Linked DNA regions of Homo sapiens: region 2 is linked to region 1. The links are contacts of gene promoters, found by promoter capture Hi-C in human tissues and cell types (Jung and others, 2019). All regions are on one chromosome and are shown on one strand. Each heading gives the region's core, a stretch centred on a gene start or on the middle of the fragment in contact. The rest is flanking DNA. Distances are from core to core; before and after follow the strand shown. Region 1 holds the start of SCIMP (SLP adaptor and CSK interacting membrane protein). Region 2 overlaps ZFP3 (ZFP3 zinc finger protein).

Region 1 (4,365 bases), core at 653-3,152:
TCCACAGAAGCATTTATTCACCCCTCAGAAGAGAATTTTTTTTTTTTTTTTTTTTGAGACGGAGTGTTGCTCTGTCACCCCGGCTGGAGTGCAGTGGCTCGATCTCGGCTCACTGCAACCTCCGCCTCCCAGGTTCAAGCGATTCTTCTGCCTCAGCCTCCCAAGTAGCTGGGACTACAGGCACCTGCCACCATGCCTGGCTAATTTTTGTATTTTTAGTAGAGACGGGATTTCACCATGTTGGCCAGGCTGGTCTCAAACGCCTGACCTCATGATCCGCCTGCCTTGGCCTCCCAAAGTGCTGGGATTTCAGGCGTGAGCCACTGTGCCCGGCCTAGAAGAAAATTTTAAATTGGCTTTTAGGAAGGTTTTTTAGCAGCTAAACTTTGGATGAGCCTAAGAAGAAAGAGTTCAGGCCTTGGCCAGGTGCAGTGGCTCAACTCTGTAATCCCAGCACTTTGGGAGGCCGAGGCAGGTGGATCACTTGAGGTCAGGAGTTCGAGACCAGCCTGGCCAACATGGTGAAACCCTGTCTCTACTAAAAATACAAAGATTAGCCGGATGCGGTGGCACACACCTGTAGTCCCAGCTACTTGGGAGGCTGAGGCAGGAGAATTGCTTGAACCTGGGAGTCGGAGGTTGCAGTGTGCTGAGATTGAGCCACTGCACTCCAGCCTGGCGACAGAGTGAGACTGCATCTCAAAAAAAAAAAAAAAAAAGAAAGAAAGAAAGAAAAAGAAAAAAGAAATTAGTAAACACTGCAAATCAGGAATCTTCTGAGCCAGATGTTTTGTTTTGTTTGTTTGAGATAGAGTCTTGCTCTGTTGCCCAGGCTGGAGCGCAATGGTGTGATCTTGGCTCACTGCAACCTCCACCTCGCGGGTCCAAGCAATTCTCCCGCCTCAGCCTCCTGAGTAGCTGGGACTACCGGTTCACACCAAAATGCCCAGCTAATTTTTGTATTTTTAGTAGAGATGGGGTTTCACCATGTTGGCCAGGCTGGTCTCGAACTACTGACTTCAGGTGATCCACCCGCCTTGGCCTCCCAAAGTGCTGGGATTACAGGTGTGAGCCACCGCACCCAGCCAGAGCCCGGTGTTTGTTAAATTTACCAGACATATATCAGACATTATCAGATATTTATCAGACATATCTGGTTATCATTATTACTGAAATGGATAACAACTCATTCGCTCTGGGCAAATACAATGCACATCCGTTTGCCTATTTTTACTAATGTGACTGCTCATTTGAGTCAGAACCAGCCAATTCAACAAAATGGCTAATTGGTTTCCCCACTCCAACCCCCATGGTCAGAGGCCGTGGGCCTCGCTGGGAGTTCTGTCTCACAGTATTGCACGAGGGGACCCAACTCAGTCAAAATGCTCCACTGGCCACATTTCTCAAGGTCGCCACTCACACGCCTTTAGAAACAGGAAGCCTGTCCCTTGCCTCCTCCAAGCAGAAGATGTCTCAGCAGTTCCAAGGTGCACAGGAGCTTTCAAGAGTCACCTTCATGGTGAGATGGTGAGTTTGTCACACATGAGCTGGTTTCTTACCTGGATCTGTCTCTGCATGGGAGCTGGCGTCCTGTCGCTCTTCTTGAGACTGAGGTTGCCACATCCAGGAATGCTCACGGCAAACTCGTCTGTGGGGACACCAAACCCACCCCCACTGCCAAGTCTCCACCCTGGCCCCTGGCCCCTGCCAGGACCCCCTACCACACCATGAGGGTCCTCTGGTAGGCCTTGCGGGAGCGACACGGGGCAGTGAGAAGATTCTGGCTTCTGGACAGCCGTGGGTCATGAGCTTCCCTGGAAAAGGGATGGTTGCCTAGAGATGACGCCAGGGTCTCTGCCCCGTGGGCTGACTAGAAAGGGGAAGTGGTCAGGATGGGGCTCACTGTCTCTAGCAGTGGGTGAAGGCCTGTGAGTGAGGAATGCCTCTCACCAGCTGTGCCTGAGCTGCAGCACTCCAGCCACTGCTGTCTCCTTAGCTGCTCACATATGGATACTTTCACAGTTCAGGTAAGCATCTCAGCTTTCCAAGGGACAGTTTCCTGCTCTCTTCACAGCAGACATCTGCCAGCGCTGGCATCAGGGCGTGTCCCTGGGAGCCACCGATCAGCACTGGGCCAGGGGATTGCAGCCTGGGGCCCTGGTACGACTGCTGTGTAGGGTTGGAGAAAAACTTGCATTGAAGGATCTGCTCTACTGGTAACTGGCTGAGTGACCTGAGGCATCACTTCACCTCTCTGGGCCTTTTCCTCATGTGTATGTCAGGGGCGATGAAGAAGTCTACCTCTTGGATTGAAATGAGATAATGACCGGGAGTGAGAGGTCTCAACTGTAACGAGTTACTCTCACTTTCTGGATGCCGATGGTGTGTTTTGGGACTTGTTATGTGAGAAGACTGTCATGGTGCTATGCTGGAGGTGGGGGTGGGAGCGAGGCACTGACTGTGTCAATTTATTTATTTTTATTTTATTTTGAGATGGAGTTTCGCTCTTGTCGCCCAGGCTGGAGTGCAGTGACGTGATCTCGGCTCACTGCAACCACCGCCTCCCGGGTTCAAGCGATTCTCCTGCCTCAGCCTCCTGAGTAGCTGGGATTACAGGCACCCGCCACCACACCTGGCTAATTTCTGTATTTTTAGTAGAGACGGAGTTTCACCATGTTGGCCAGGCTGCTCTCGAACTCCTGACCTCAGGTGATCCGCCCGCCTCGGCCTCCCAAAGTGCTGGGATTACCGTAGCATGAATTTAGGCTACGTCTTGGGGCTCTTGGATGAAAGACCTGGATCACCTCCAGTCTTGGTACCTTTGTCATTGCATCTCTGGCTTTCAGTAGTTCATTAGGCACCTTCCCTTCCAGAGGCCTCGAGATCAAAGTGTGTTGGGCTGGCGTGAGTTCTCGGTGTAGCCATCTGCTTTTGCCCTCTGGAAAATTATTTTGAGAAGAGATCTGGGTTTGGCTTTGCCATATCCACTCCCACTGCCTGGTGTGTCCACTTGTCCCTGAGGTCTTGGCCATGAAGCAATGTGGAGCACAGGCTTCACTCTGCTTCAGTGGTAAATAACTACTGAGAGGCAGGCGGGGCATGGTGGCTCACGCCTCTAATCCCAGCACTTTGGGAGGCCAAGGTGGGCAGATCACAAGGTCAAGAGATCAAGACCAGCCTGGCCAACATGGTGAAACCCTGTCTCTACTACAAATACAAAAATTAGCTGGGCATGGTGGTGGGCGCCTATAGCCCCAGCTACTCGGGAAGCTGAGGCAGGAGAATCGTTTGAGCCCGGGAGGTGGAGGTTGCAGTGAGCCAAGATTATGTCACTGCACTCCAGCCTGGTGACAGAGCAAGACTCCATCTCAAAAACAAACAAACAAACTACTGAGAGGCTTAAAGCAAGGAAGGGACAGGGTCACACTGGTATTTGGCAGCCAGTGGGGAGCCCAGTGGGGGCTAGGGGCCAGCGAAAATGCAATGGTCCAGGTACAGAGATGAGGACTTGGACTACATTTGGAGGCTGATGGGCTGAAGCGGGGTGGGGATGGGGCCATGGGAGAAAGAGGAATGAGGCAAGGTTTCCGGTCTTTTCCAGAAGTGAAAGTATAGAGAAGGGAAGAAGAGAGGCTGGACTCCTTTTAATGACCCTGCCGTGCACTTCCCCATGCACACTTGGGTTTTAAGTTGCCAGTGACTATCCACATGGCCATTTCTGGTGCTGACATCAGTGAGAAGGACAAGTGGAGCGAGGCTCAGTGGCTCACGCCTGTAATCCCAGCACTTTGGGAGGCCGAGGCAGGTGGATCACTTGAGGTCAGGAGTTTGAGACCAGCCAGGCCAACATGGCAAAACCCCATCTCTACTAAAAATACACAAAAATTAGCCGGGTATGGTGGTGCGTGTCGGTAATCCCAGCTACTCAGGAGGCTGACACAGGAGAATAGCTTGAACCAGGAAGTAGAGGTTGCAGTGAGCTGAGATTGCACCAGTGGAGTCTAGCCTGGGTGACAGAGCAAGACGCCATCTCAAAAAAAAAAAAAGAAGAAGAACGAGTGGGAACAAGGCCTCACTTAGCATGAACAGCAACAGTCGGGGAATTAGAGGTGAACTGGGGCAAGAACTGCTCATGCCAACCGGCCTAAATGTTCTCTACAGCCTCTCAGACCCTCGAGATCTAGACTGAGATTAGTTCGAACCCTCATTCCAGGCCTGCCGAAGTCCAAAGCCCTCCCCAGGACTTCTGTGGACTCCCGAGGAGCCCACCTCTTTTTCCATGGTCAGCAATGGGCCTGCAGCCTCTGTGGGTAAAACTGTTTACACTGCGCTGTTTACACTGCACTGTTTGCACTGTTTATACTG
Region 2 (4,527 bases), core at 2,028-4,527, 140 kb after region 1:
ATAATGCAATTTGGAATAAACATGACAAAGGCATTGTATCAATAAAATAGTAAAGAAATATTTTATTTACCTAAGGTGTTAGTATACCATTAAAATTAGGGAAGGAAGAAAATTTTGTACATGGGCATAGCTTCAAAAATTCTGAAGGGTATTTCTGGGTATTTAGATAGGACTTTTAAGATTGAGGCCTGTGCGGTTTTTTAATGGGTCTAAAATTAAGACAATTCATGTCCTTTCCTTGATAGTATTTGCACAAATCATCATTACCAGTCACGACTGTGGTCAGATGCTGACTCCCAAGTAAGTCGAAGAGGGAGGCAAACAGAAGGAAAAGAGAAATCTTCCTGAGATATCTGGGTAAGACATGAAGAGGACAGAGAATTGAGGTTAAGGATTTGCGTATATGTACCTAATAAGATACAAGTGATTTCATTCACCAGAAATCTGGGGCGGGGCGGGGAATATGTATCTATATATGGTAGACTTTTCTGGGAATGAGACGTGAGACCTCCCCCTTAAGAACATGGTCAGGTACAACAGGTCACTAAATTGCCTCCTAATGTTCAAATGAATGAATGGTGAACTAGAGGAAGTTTTGCTGAGCAGGAATGGGTTTAAGAGGGTAATTGAGCTAGGGCCAGGGGAGGCGAGGTGATGGATTGGATATCTAGTAGGCAAAAAGAAGTTGAGGTGACTGAGCCTTGAGAGGGGAGGACAAGAGGAAAACCTTCATTGGTTTGGCCAGTAAGGTACTTCTGAGAACAAAATGTCTAATAGGATGCACAATGTGAACTCTTCTCCTTTGCTTACACACTATCTTCAGTGAAGTCCATATTGCTCAGGGGTGTTTGTGTGCATAGATTGTTTAGGAGAAGCTTGAAGGGGTGCCAAATTCTCTGTCAGGGCTGACAAGAGGTAAATGTGGAAATAAAATATGCAAACACGGGAATCAGGCATGGAAGGGATAGGTGAGATCCAGGTTTCATGTGAGAAAGATACGGTCTGGGCACAATTCAATTTGTGCTCCAGCAATGAAAAAGGAATAAGACGGCGCACTTCACTTGTAATCAACCTAAGGGAAGAAGTAAATCAAACAACTTCCCTTACTAAGAGTGTGACTGCTAGAGGCAGAGGTATCTGGAAGGATGTGGAAACTCTGCAATCATCTATTTGTACAACCCTTTTCTCAAGCCAAGGATATAAACCTGGGAAGACACCTATATTGGAGTACAGAATAAACCCATTTGGTGAATTTTTTTTGGCTGTGATCAGTTCTGTTACCAAGGACATGATTTAAATTTGTTATATTCAAATCTACATAGAAATCAGTAATAGAAACTGTGCAAAGGGTTTCAGATAAGGCAGTAATGAATCTGCCTACCTGCGGCATAGCACAGTGGTTAAGAGCATCAACCAGGTTTGGAGTCTTGGCTGTCGCTCTTACTAGCTGTGGAATCATGGGTCAATTACTTAACACTGCCCCTTCTTATCTTTTAAATTGGGGTAAGAATACCCACATCATTGATGGTTGCACCACTATGTAAATTAAAAATCATTCAACTGAACACTTAAAACAGGTGAATTTTATAGTACGTAAATTATACCTTCATAAAGCTTTAAAAAAATGAGTACCCACATCATAGAAATGATGTGAAAATTAAAATGTAAACTGGCACTCTGCCTGTCAGGTAGTAAACACTCAATAAATATTAGTGACTAATATTAGTGTAACAAAGATGAGGTTAAAGAATAATAAAGATATATAAAGTTAAATTTTTAAAGAATTAAGGAATTATCGGGCTGGTTGAAACTTTTGAGATCACTTAGTTCAACTCTTTCATTTTACAGAGGAGAAAATTGGAGACCAGCAGGTGAAGTGCCTTGTTCAAGGTCTAGCGCTAAGACCAGCCCCCAGGCCTGTTGGGCCCCCATTAGTGCAATTCCCACTGTCACCCACGGCCTCAGAAACATGGACACATGGAAAATGTAGGCTGTTTCCTTGGAGAAGAAATAAATACAGAACACAAAAAACATGCAGACATAGCGAAGAAAGAATTTCAAGGCCGGGCATGGTAGCTCACACCTGTAATCTCAATACTTTGGGAAGTTGAGGCAAAAAGATTGCTGGAGCCCAGGCATTCAAGACCAGCCTGGGCAACATAGCAAGACTTTATCTCTATTTTTTTAAAGTTATTCAAGAAAAAAGAATTTCAAGGCCAAGGGGCAAAACCAAGAAGAGGCTACGACATCCTGACTTAGCCAGGGCCTCCAGTGCGGTCCAGGTCATGAGAACTTAAGTGCTTTGGCAAGGCCAGACCCTGGTTTGTCATCAGGTGAACTGACTCATCACTGTAGCCAGGTGCCCGGAGGAGGTGAAGCCACAGTCCTGTCTGCTACTTACTGTCACAATATCTGTCAGCAGTGGCAGGAGATGGGGCTAAAAATATATGCAGCAGAATTCTTAGGAGCAGTCAGTCTGAGCACCCCTGAAGTGTGGACAGCTCCTGAAGAGCTGCTTCTGCCCATGCCGAGCAGTGTGACCTCAATTGTTTATCCCCTGGTGTTGCCTAATCGGCCCCTCTGGATTCTAAGGCCTTCACTTATAATCCCGTTGTAAATTGCCTGTCAGTTCCTCCATCATGGCAGCCTCTTCAGATGAATAAGGAAGCCTGACAGATGTGAAATGAGCCTGCTTCTTCATTAATGCTGCCATCTTCTAAAGTAACTTCATAGCAGGGCTGGACGACTTTGAAGCTAATAACAGCTTACTAAATTATTCCAATGCTAAACAGTGGACAGGAGAATGAGGTGTGTCTTCTAAATTATGACTTTCTAATATTTCAGGGGGTAACAGTCAATGAGTCAACTCTCATTCTTAGGAGGTGGTGGAATCCTGTTCCCACAATTTTGCTGAAGAGTAATTTAGGAAAGATGGCTGGTACAGACCCTTAATGTTTGTTATGTGATCCACTGGGGGAGGAGAAGGGGAAGGAAGGACAGAGGGGAAATTAAGGCCTGAAAGAGCTTTTATGATTTAACTTAGCACACTGAAACCTCTCAATGAATAATTCATAAAAGTGCCTCATTAGTGCCTGCAGTCCTAGCTATTTGGAAGGCTGAGGCAGGAGGACTGTTTGAGCCCAGGAGTTCAAGGAAGCAGTGAGTTACGACTGTGCCACTGCATCCCATCCTGGGCAACAGAGCAAGACCCCAATGCTTAAAAAAAAAAAAAAAAAAGTGCCTCATCTTCTTCAACCAACTATTTAAAATCAGTGGGAGGACAGAGGAGGTTCTGTCCATTCATTGGATTTGAATACTTGGGGTGCATATTTGCATATTATGAACAAATGAATAAGTTGGACTTTAGCTTTTCCACTAAAAGCTTTCCTATTTTGCAGATTACTCCATACAGTGAACACTTTGATGTCGGAGGAGGTGAGAGCTCCGACTAAAAGTCTTCTGACATTCTTGGCACTCATAAGGCTTCTCTCCAGTGTGAATTCTCTGATGTATGATAAGTTGGGAATGCTGGCTAAATGTTTTCTCACACTCGCTACATTCATAAGGTTTCTCTCCAATATGAATTTTCTGGTGGAGAAGCAGCTCAGAATTATCCCAAAAGGTTCTTGCACACTCATTACATTGATGGGGTTTCTCTCCAGTATGAATTCTCTGGTGGACAATAAGGTGAGAGGTCCGCCTGAAAGCCTTTCCACACTCAAAGCATTCATAGGGTTTCTCTCCAGTGTGAATTCTCTCATGTCTAAGAAGTTCTGAGTTCCCCCTGAAGGCCTTCCCACATTCCTTACATACATAGGGCTTCTCACCAGTATGAATTCTAATATGTCTAATAATCTCTGAGTTCTGGCCAAAAGTTTTCCCACATTCATTACATTCATAGGGTTTGTCCCCTGTATGAATTCTCTGATGCCGGATAAGCTCAGAACTCTGCCCGAAGCCCTTCCCACATTCATTACACAGATATGGTTTTTCTCCAGTATGAATTTTCTGGTGTCTAATAAGGCCTGAGCTATGCTTGAAGGCTTTGCCACACTCATTGCATTCATGGTATCTTTCTTCAGTATGAATTCTCTGATGCTGAATAAGCTGTGAACTAACCCTAAAGGTCTTCCCACATTCATTACATTCATATGGTTTCTCTCCAGTATGGATTCTCTGGTGTAGAATAAGGGCTGAATTTTGACTGAAGGCTTTACCACATTCTTCACATTTATAGGGTCTCTCTCCAGTATGAATTCTATGATGGTGAATAAGGTGTGAACTCTGAATGAAGGCCTTTCCACATTCATTACAAGCAAAGGGTTTTTCTCCAGCATGAATTCTCAGGTGCCGTCGAAGGCTTGAATTAGTTCCAAATGTCTTTCCACATTCTTTACATTCAAAGGGTTTTTCTCCACTATGAACTCTCATATGCTGGATGAGATGTGAGTTCTGATTAAAGGCTTTCCCACATTCTTTACATGTATGAGGCTTTTCTCCCACAGAACTTCTCTGTGTTTTGTTAGA

What was found. Contacts are between HindIII fragments. The study calls those that stand out against the background at their distance.
Region 2: a contact is called between a fragment that was not itself captured here and the fragment with the promoter of SCIMP in region 1, in 1 of the 25 tissues and cell types used here (IMR-90 fibroblasts).

What each region holds. Positions count from the first base shown.
Region 1 is chr17:5,232,397-5,236,761 of GRCh38, reverse strand. It overlaps SCIMP (SLP adaptor and CSK interacting membrane protein), which reads left to right and starts at 1,902. Exons shown (of 5, transcript NM_207103.3): 1 at 1,902-2,027. The coding sequence starts at 2,007. ZNF594-DT (ZNF594 divergent transcript) reads right to left here. Exons shown (of 6, transcript NR_152840.1): 6 at 759-1,648. RefSeq lists an enhancer at 1,461-1,660. The HindIII fragment of the contact is 19,973 bases long and covers 1-4,365 here.
Region 2 is chr17:5,091,886-5,096,412 of GRCh38, reverse strand. ZFP3 (ZFP3 zinc finger protein) reads right to left here. Exons shown (of 2, transcript NM_153018.3): 2 at 39-4,527. The coding sequence ends at 3,400. Among named protein-coding and RNA genes, the nearest start is that of ZFP3, 16 kb to the right of the region's middle. The HindIII fragment of the contact is 4,063 bases long and covers 1,246-4,527 here.